2 separate regions of the Homo sapiens genome follow, and region 1 is linked to region 2. Evidence: promoter capture Hi-C in 16 types of primary human blood cells and fetal thymus (Javierre and others, 2016). All regions are on one chromosome and are shown on one strand. Each heading gives the region's core, a stretch centred on a gene start or on the middle of the fragment in contact. The rest is flanking DNA. Distances are from core to core; before and after follow the strand shown. Region 1 has its middle 3.3 kb from the start of TRD-GTC2-10. Region 2 holds the start of IKBIP (IKBKB interacting protein).

Evidence for each region. Contacts are between HindIII fragments. The CHiCAGO score rates a contact against its expected background, and 5 or more counts as called.
Region 1: a fragment that was not itself captured here is called in contact with the fragment with the promoter of IKBIP in region 2 in 1 of 17 cell types (M0 macrophages); the score reaches 5.7 in M0 macrophages.

The regions. Positions count from the first base shown.
Region 1 is chr12:124,933,767-124,938,981 of GRCh38, reverse strand. It overlaps the pseudogene RPL22P19. Among named protein-coding and RNA genes, the nearest start is that of TRD-GTC2-10, 3.3 kb to the left of the region's middle. RefSeq lists enhancers at 2-271, 1-959. The HindIII fragment of the contact is 1,587 bases long and covers 467-2,053 here.
Region 2 is chr12:98,643,072-98,647,917 of GRCh38, reverse strand. IKBIP (IKBKB interacting protein) reads left to right here and starts at 3,130. Exons shown (of 3, transcript NM_153687.4): 1 at 3,130-3,395. The coding sequence starts at 3,217. APAF1 (apoptotic peptidase activating factor 1) reads right to left here and starts at 2,628. Exons shown (of 27, transcript NM_181861.2): 1 at 2,083-2,628. RefSeq lists silencers at 2,224-2,433, 2,754-2,953 and enhancers at 2,530-3,157, 3,158-3,784, 3,785-4,412. The HindIII fragment of the contact is 4,349 bases long and covers 1,446-4,846 here.

The sequences.
Region 1 (5,215 bases), core at 11-2,510, about 26 Mb before region 2:
AGATACAACTGAAGAATATTTATTCCTTATGCATGAGGTCCCTATTGCTGTGTTTTGACTTCATTGGCTGCAGCCAGACCTCACAATTTAAACTAAAACCCGATTAGCTAACAGTTCAAAAATTTTTTAAATAGGTAAAAGCAGTGAGGAACATAGGAAAAAAGGATGTTCCTTACGAAAGGACTTAGAAAAGTAATAATATTCCTAAATAAGGAAGAGTGTAGGCTGCAAGCTGGGACATGCCTGGGCACGTCCAGCACGAATATTTTGACAAAGGTACAAGGACATAGAATGTACTACGTGCCTGTGAGCATGTTTAGCACAGATACCGAAGTCAGAGTGTGCTTATTCTGTTACATTTGCTACCTAAGGCTTAACAGAGAGTTATTACTATAAAATAAGAAATTTGAAGAAAGTTAGTTCTGAGAAAAGATATTAATAACATTTATGATTTAAAGGGGAAGCTTTGAAGAGGAACTTTTGCTTTCTACATTTCCTTCCCTTTTAATTTTTATAATTTTTCCTTTTTAAACTGTTTTAGCATGTTTTGGCTTAATTGTTCTACTTGAGCTTTTAAGAGGAGAAATCTCTTAGAATAAGGTGGAGGAGAGTTAAGATAGGTTTTAGTAGTTTTGGTAAGAACTGTCGTTATTAATTTTGTCATTAGCTTCCAGAGGCATGGTATAACATCCGAGAAGGAGAAGTGTACCTATTACGGTAGTAATAGAAGTGAGAATTGAGGTTATAGTTTCCTTCCGTTGACCAAACCATCGTCCTAGCCAATTTGAAATAGGGTTATTAATTCTAGAATTTCTAGTAAGCTCTTTAGATAAAGCAGTGAGACCTTGTAAGGTTCTGGTTATACTTCTGTTAGGAGTCGTGTTATTTGGGATGAAGGTTGTACACAACATTGGGTTTTAATTATAACACAAACACCACCTTTCTCGGCTAATACTACATTTAAAGCCATTTTATTTTCCTAAGCCATTTTAGTAGTGGATCCTAACTGTTCTGCTATTCCTTTAATAGCATCTTTAAGTATAGTTAATAAATTGTTGTTGATAGTAATAAATATTGTTTATCCAATTTACATTCTTATTAATTGTTATTTGTGGGAGAAGGGATTTGAACCTCACAGCTCTCTGATTTCTAGCTTTGAATTTATCTGATATACCTCGTGGAACGTCAGTTGTATCTAAATAAACATGGGGGTCAAAGGACCTACGAGAGGCTTCTCTTGTTTTACGATGTCATGTTTTTTTGTTTGTTTGTTTTTCTGGTTGATGAAATGCCAGGGTAAAAGGGATAGCTAACTGAACTAGAGCACAAGTACCGCTCCAATTATTTGGCAAAGTGTCCAGTAAAGGTTCTCCAAAATACCACCATACACCCACTCGGGGATGAATAAGGGCTGACTGATGGGTCAGCTCTTGGAAGTGCCTGACCTCACTGCATTCTGTTAAGTTTCTTTCTTTCTTTCTTTCTTTTTTTTTTTCCTCTTTTTGAGAGGGAGTCTAGCACTGTCGCCCAGTCTGGAGTGCAGTGGCGCGATCTCAGCTCACTACAAGCTCCACCTCCCAGGTTCACGCCATTCTCCTGGCTCAGCCTCCCTAGTAGCTGGGACTACAGGCGCCCGCCACCACGCCCGGCTAATTTTTTTGTATTTTTAGTAGAGCCGGGGTTTCACCGTGTTAGCCAGGATGGTCTCGATCTCGTGACCTCGTGATGCGCCTGCCTCGGCCTCCCAAAGTGCTGGGATTACAGGCGTGAGTCACCGCGCCCGGCCGTTTCCTTGACTTTTAAAAGAAAAATTAGGTTGGTGTCCTGGAACATGGACAATGGCTATTTCTTCCGGTAATTGAAGATTATTAAGAACATGAACAACTAGTGTTTCATGAGCAAGTTCCTTACCTTTACTGTTAAATAGTTCTCGCTCAGCCTAAATTTTTCCAAATGTATGAGATACTCTGAAAGCATATTTAGAGTCAGTATAGATAGTTCCTACCTGGTTCTGTAAATATTTTAGGGCCTAAGTGCGAATAACTTGCAAGCTTGAGCAGACCAATTATTTGGTAATCTTCCTGATTTTACTTTTTTTAAGGTCTCTTTATCAATTACAGCATATCCATTATGTTGTGTCCTTTCAATCATTTAGGAGGAGCCAGGGTGGTCTCAAACTCCTGAGCTCAAGCAATCCCCGCGCCTTAGCCTCCCAAAGTGTTACGATTACAGGTGTGAGCCACCTCACCCAGCCTAATATCTTTATTATAGAAATAATTTTTTAAATCACTAAGAAAAATTCAAAAATATCAATAGATCACAATCAACAGGCAATGAATTTACAGAAGAGGAAAAATGATTCATTAATAAAACTTACAGAAAAGCTTGGCTCTTAGAAGTATTTAAATAAATGGAAGTAAAACACAAGTTACTACTTTCAACCCATGATGTTGTGAAAGTTGTCAGAATCAAAATGAAGTCATGGATGTTAAGTAAGTAAATAAATAAATAAATAAACCCTGACAAATAGAACCAGGGAAGGCCATGAAGAGAGGGTTCCCGTGCTTGCAGGCCTGATAAAAGACTCTAGAAAAACCACAACCTTGCACAAACGCCTTCGCGACCTTACACAAAAAAGACTACTGCAAGGACATCCGCCAAGCAGCTGCCTGTCCAGCCTCAGACTACGGTCACCTCTGTTATTGATCTTTGCAGCCAACCATAATTATGTCAGAACAATTATGTAATCCTCCTCCTTTTTTTCCTGTAAAAACATTTGTCTTCCTGCCGGGCGCGGTGTCTCACGCCTGTAATCCCAGCACTATAGGAGGCCGAGGCGGGAGGATCACGAGGTCAGGAGTTCGAGACCAGCCTGGCCAACATGGTGAAGCCCCGTCTCAACTAAACATACAAACATTAGCTGGGCATGGTGGCGGGCGCCTGTAGTCCCAGCTACTAGGGAGGCTGAGGCAGGAGAATTGCTTGAACCCAGGAGGCGGAGGTTACAGTGAGCCAAGATTGCACCACTGCACTACCAGCCTGGGTGACAGGGAGAGACTCCATCTCAAAACAAACAAACAAACAAATGTTGCCTTCTTTCTGCCTCCGCTACCGCCATGGCGCCCATGAAAAAGCTTGTGGTAAAGGAGGGCTAAAAAAAAGGAAGCAGGTTCCAAAGTTCACTCTTGATCGCACCCACCCCGTAGAAGATGGAATCATGGATGCTGCCAACTTTGAGCAGTTTTTCCAAGAAAGGATCAAAATGAACGGAAAAGCTGGGAACTTTGGTGGAGGGGTAGTGACCATCGAAGGGAGCAAGAGCAAGACCAGCGTGACATCCAAGCTGCCCTTTTCCAACAGGTATTTGAAATATCTCACCAAAAAATATCTGAAGAAGAATAATCTACATGATTGGTTGCGCGTAGTTGCTAACAGCAAACAGAGTTACGAATTACGTTACTTCCAAATTAACCAGGACGAAGAGGAGGAAAACGAGGATTAAATTTCATTTATCGGCCGGGCGCGGTGGCTCACGCCTGTAATCCCAGCACTTTGGGAGGCCGAAGCAGGTGGATCACGAGGTCAGAAGTTCGAGATCAGTCTGGCCAACATGGTGAAAACCCTGTCTCTACTAAAGATACAAAAAATTAGCCGGGTGTAGTGGCGTGCGCTTGTAATCCCAGCTACTCGGGAGGCTGAAGCAGGAGAATTGCTTGAACCTGGGAGGCGGATGTTCCACCGAGCCGAGATCACGCCATTGCACTCCAGCTTGGGTAACAAGTTGAGACTCCATCAAAAAAAAAAAAAAGGAAAAAGAAAAGAAAGAAAATGTTTGGAGTGAGATAGAGATGGGGGTTGCACAACAGTGCGAATGCACCAAATGCCACTGAATTGCTCACTGTAAAAGAGTTGGCTTTGGCCAGGGGCAGTGGCTCACACCTGTAATCCCAGCACTTTGGGAGGCCCAGGCGGGCGGATCACCTGAGGTCAGTAGCTCGAAACCAGCCTGACCAACATGGAGAAACCCCCATCTCTACTAAAAATAAAAATACAAAATTAGCCGGGCGTGGTTGTGCATCCCTGTAATCCCAGCTACTTGTGAGGCTGAGGCAGGAGAATCGCTTGAACCCGGAGACAGAGATTGCTGTGAGCCGAGGTCGCGCCATTGCACTCCAGCCTGGACAACAAGAGCGAAACTCCGTCTCAAAAAAACAAAAACAAAACAAAACAAAAAAAAAACAAAAAAAAACACACAAAAATATATAAAAATAAAATAAAATGGTTGGTTTGGGCCGGGTGCAGTGGCTCACGCCTATAATTCCAGCACTTGGTAAGGCTGAAGCAGGGAGATCACTTGAGGTAAAGAGTTCGAGACCAGCCTGGCCTCTACTAAAAAGCTCATCTGTACTAAAAATTAAAAAATTGGCCAGACATGGTGGCGTGTGCCTGTAATCTCAACTATTCGGAAGTCTGAGGCAGGAGAATCGCTTGAACCTGGGAGGCCGAGGCTGCAGTGAGCTGAGACTATGCCACTGCACTCCAGTCTAGGCGACAGAGAGACTCCATCTCAAAAAAAGAAAATAAATAAAATAATTGGTTTTGGCCAGGCGCATTGATTCATGCCTGTAATTGCCGCACTTTGGGAAGCCAAGGCGAGGGGATTGCTTGAGGCCAGGAGTTTGAGATATAGTGAGAACCCGATCTCTAAAGCTAGTTTTATGTTATGTGAGTTTCACCTCAATACAAAACAAACAAACAAAAACATTTACTTTTAAGAATGACCGGCCGGGCGTAGTGGCTCACGCCCGTAATCCCAGCACTTTGGGAGGCGGAGGCAATCAGATCACCTGAGGTCAGGAGTTTGAGACCATCCTGGCCAACATGAAACCCTGTCTCTACTAAAAATACAAATAAAACAATTAGCTAGGTGGAAATTAGATGGGTGGCCTGCAGTCCCAGCTACTTAGGAGGCTGAGGCAGGAGAATCTCTTGAACCTGGGAGGCAGAGGTTGCAGTGAGCCGAGATCACGCCACTGCACTCCAGCCTGGTGACAGAGCGAGACTCCGTCTCAAAAAAAAAAAAAAGACTAAGCCTAAGCCATGTTTGGAGAAGACAAGAATGGAATGGGAAGGATGGAGCTATAAATGGCTTCAGCCTTTTCAGAAACTGCTTCCAGATCCCACACTCGGACTTCATAATCTATATATGGAATTT
Region 2 (4,846 bases), core at 1,881-4,380:
GTAAAAAATAAAAAGAAAAAAGAATTAATGGAGGATGTTTCAGTGATGAACGCAACCTAAATGTCCATCATTCTGAATATAGATTTTAAAAATTAGGGTATGTATATAAAATGGAATATTATGCAGCCATTCAAAATTATGACACATATCTCCATGTATTGACATGGAAAGATGTTCATAATACTGTTGCTGAAAAAAAAAAAAAAAAAAAACAGAAACATGATCCCACATACAACACATAACGTGGGGGCCGGGCGCAGTGGCTCATGCCTGTAATCCCAGCACTTTGGGAGGCCGAGGCGGGTGGATCACGAGGTCAGGAATTCAAGACCAGCCTGGCCAAGATGGTGAAACCCTGTCTCTACTAAAAATACAAAATTAGCCAGATGCAGTGGCAGGTGCCTGTAATCCCAGCTGCTCGGGAGGCTGAAGCAAGAGAACTGCTTGAACCAGGGCGGCAGAGGTTGCAGTGAGCCGAGACCACTCTACTGTACTCCAGCCTGGGCGACAGACTGAGACTCTGTCTCAAAAAAAAAAACAAGTGTTGGTATCATATGAATATATATAGACGTTTAGAAGTTTATTCATCGAAATGTTTGAGTTACTTCTGAGTAGCAAAATTTGGGATTTCTCCCCCACCTTGTCTTATTTTTTTTTTTTTTTTAGTACAGACGGGGTTTCACCATGTTGACCAGGCTGGTCTTGAATTCCTGACCTCAGGTGATCCACCCGCCACAGCCTCCGAAAGTGCTGGGATTACACTTGTGAGCCCCACCATGCCCGGCCTCTACTGTCAATTTTTTTTAGCACACATTATCATTTCTTACAATAAAATACTTCCTTTTTTAATTAAGATTGTATAAAATAGTGATTACATTGAAGTCCTAATATTAAGAGACTTCTTGTTTTCCTTATCAAACATAAGAGTGAATAGAGCATTGTTACTATTGAGTATTAGTTCTCGTTCAAGGAGGATGTCAGCTCTAGGTCCTCCTTGCTAAACACATTTCCCACAAAGCAACAGGAAACACTTTCTGATGTGATTTCTCAGACCAGGAGGACATGAGGAAAGAATAACAGCCTTTATAGTAAAATACTTGACGTTTCTAGCAACTTTATTTCAAATATAATGCAAATTTTTCCATGGGCATAAAACCCAGTTCACAATATCTGCAAGTTTTCAAAACATTAACAGAACTTTACACAATGTATAGAGTGAAAGAGTCTAAACGGGTTTATCAATTCATTCATTCAATACACATTTGTGCCCCTCCCTATATGTCAGACACCAAGACTACAGAAAAGATTGAGTCATTTGCCTGAAATAATTCACAGTCTACTCAAAGAAGAAAAAGAGAGAGAGAGTGGGAATGTGAATGCCCGAAGTGCAAAAACAGAGCACAAGTAACTTGGAGCTCACAGAAGGGGGCAATAATTATCAAGCTTCAATGACTGTTTTTGAAGTCACCAAATGTAGCACTTGGAAAAACAGGGACGGACGTAGGGCATTTGCCTATGCTTGTCAAGGCTTACAAAATGCCCAGCAGGGGCACAAAACTGATAAAAAGTTATTGATTCGAATCAAAACTCTCATTTTTTAAAATGTTAATAACGTTTTTGTCCTCTTAAACATAAAATGTTCCTTAATTTATAGTAATGAAATTCGATGTGAAAAAACAAGAATGAATGAATTTTTTAGGTGATGTCCAATAGCTAAGCAAATAAGACACTCTGGTTTTCTGAAACTAATTTCCAATTTCACCTAGTCCTGTTAAACTAAAATATGCAAATCTTAAATACGTTTTAAAACTGCACAACTTATCTGAACTAAGTCTCAAAACCTTTTGTAACCCACAACAAAATGGAAAGCCAAAACTCTTCATGGACGTAAAACAGAAAACAGCGCACGTTTATCCACGAAAACCCCAAGTTTACTACTTCCTCATTACAGAATTTCTCTTCCTGGTACAGGAGCAGGATGGTTATCAAATATTCCATGTCCTCAAATTCTCAGTCCCTGAAATCAGCTACCAAGCCTCCAAAGAACCTGGCTCGGGGAGAAAAGCGAGGAGGTCAACTTACCCAAGCCTTTGCGCCTAGGTCTTAGTGGGGAGGGCGGCACTGCCGGGACAAGACTGGGAGACTCCAGGCCGGTGGAGGGAAACGGCAACAGGAGTTTTCCACCGGGAATTAGGGGTGCAGGGCTCTGTCTCGCCACATACCCTTCGCCCCGGGGCAGGTCCGGGCCTCACAGGCGCCTCCCCTGGATCTCTGCAGCCCCGGGGCGCACGAAGACCCCCAGGGACCTCCGAAGGTTGGCGAGGTGGGCGTCCACCCAACGCAGCCTGACCCCACAGTCCCGGAGCGCCGCGGTGAGGCCCGGCCCACGGGCCGCCCTCCGGTGGACCCCACTACTGGACACAAAGGGAGGAGGTCTTCCCGGCCTGTGGCGCCCTTCCCCCGACGGCGGCTGCACCCCGGAGGGAGCCCGGCGCTACTCCGGATGCCGCTGCGGCACCTCAAGTCTTCGCGGGTCGCCGACTGCCCAGACTCCCCACCTCTGGTTCTATCCCTTTTGCCCGGGATAGAGCAGTCACGTCCACTCGCTACCTCTTCTTCTCCGCCTCTGGACAGCGGAGCAGTCAAATCCCGCCGGATCCACCCAGCCCGGACGGCGCGCGCCCGCTTATGCAAATAAACACACCCCAAGCCCCAAGGGGCGGCCACCGCTGCCGCCGCGCACTCCTGCCACGGCTCATGCCCGCGCGCGTAGAAGTGCCCGCCTACCCCGCGGACGGGGCGTGGCTAAGCCTCAGGGACGCGCCGCGTTCCCACCAATGCCGGACTCGGGCAGCGGCGGCGCGCCCGACGTGGCGCGCGCGACCCCTTCGTCCTGCCCCTCCTCCTCGGGTCCCGTCGGCCTGCGCGCGCCCGGGAGTTTGAATTTCCTCGGATTTGGAGCAATATCGCAGTGGAAGGCGCTGTGGGTTGAGGTCGCCGCCCACCTCTCCTAGGGGAACTATGGAGCTGGCAGCTGAAAGACTCAGTGAAGCAACGAGGATGCCGGGGAGAGGGAAGGGGCTGGGCTCTGGGCGGTGCCAAGTCTGTGAGGGGGCGCGGTCACCGCCCAGGGTTCCCACGAACGCCAAGGCGGCCACGTCCTGCTCCCCCTGGTGAAGAAGCTGCCCTGGGCTTGTCGTCCTAGGGTCTCCAGACATGTCTGAGGTGAAGAGCCGGAAGAAGTCGGGGCCCAAGGGAGCCCCTGCTGCGGAGCCCGGGAAGCGGAGCGAGGGCGGGAAGACCCCCGTGGCCCGGAGCAGCGGAGGCGGGGGCTGGGCAGACCCCCGAACGTGCCTGAGCCTGCTGTCGCTGGGGACGTGCCTGGGCCTGGCCTGGTAAGTGGACGCGAGGCTGCCTGGGCCGGCCTCCTGTGGGCCCCCTGCTGTTTGGGCTCCCACCCGGCTCAACATCCAGCCGGAGGTGATCCAACCTCCCAGACCTGGGCCTTCTGTGCCTCTGTCTTGACCCCAAAGGAAGGAAACAGCCCAGCCTTGTTTTTCCCTTTCGGGCGTTTCTTGTATCTCATTTCCCCCCGTGCTGGTAGCATGCCCCTATCGCTCAGAAGGAGTTGAGGCTAAGGTTTGGGAACGAGCCATTTGTTAAGAGCTGCAGATTCGGCCACGCTTTCTGAAGCTCCCGCTACACGTCAGAAGCGTTCACGTTGTTATAAACCGTTACTTCCTGTCCGCTGTGCCCCATTCCGGGACACATCTGCCCCACCCTACTCACCCCATAAATACCTAATGGAAATACTTGCAACCTTAAAACAGATCATTATGTTTGGAGACCGAGGCAGGTGGATCACTTGAGGTCAGGAGTTCGAGACTAGCCTGGCCAACATGGTGAAACCCCATCTCTACCAAAAATACGAATAATCAGCCGGGCGTGGTGGCGGGCGCCTGTAGTCCCAGTTCCTCCGGAGGCTGAGGCAGGAGAATCGCTTGAACCCGGGAGGCGGAGGTTGCTATGAGCCAAGATCGCATCACTGCACTCCAGCCTGGGCGACCGAGCGAGACTCCGTCTCAAAAAAAAAAAAAAAAGAAAACCATATCATTATGCTCCCAAAGGAGCAAACGTTATAGTAGCAGAGCTTGGAGGAGTGCTCATATTTTGATCACCGTGCATGCATTATGAATTTAAGGTCTTTTATTAAGTAAGTTACAGATTGAATATGGTAAAGCTACAAAAACATAGCACTTGTGTTCACTTAAAACTAACCAGTTGCAGTTTTAAAATCAGGTAAATGGCGATATATTGGTGTCATTAGGAAAAATGAATATTAGAAATAACCTTAAAACCAACTCGTAAAAAAAGAAAAAAGAAAAAAACCAACTTGTGAATTTTATTTTCCCAGCCTTTTTTTTTCTGGCGGGAGGAGGGAATAGCCCATTTCATTTTAATAAGATTGGCATCTTAATAGAATTTTTCTCCATTTTTCATTCATGTGTAAAGTTATTTAGTAAGACTGTTGTTAATCTTCCAGAGTGATAGAATTTTAGAAGAGACCCTGGACATCTAGACATTTTTTATGCTACTACATATGGAATTATACTTTACTGGTGACTCATCCCAAATAGTGTATTTTTCAGAGTTAAAAGATTTGTTACGGCTGGGCGCGGTGGCTCACACCTGTAATCCCAGCACTTTGGGAGGCCGAGGTGGGCAGATCATGAGGTCAGGAGTTCAAGACCAGGCTGGCCAACATGGTGAAACCCTGTCTCTACAAAAAATACAAAAATTAGCCAGGCTTGGTGGCACAAACCTGCAATCCCAGCTATTCAGGAGG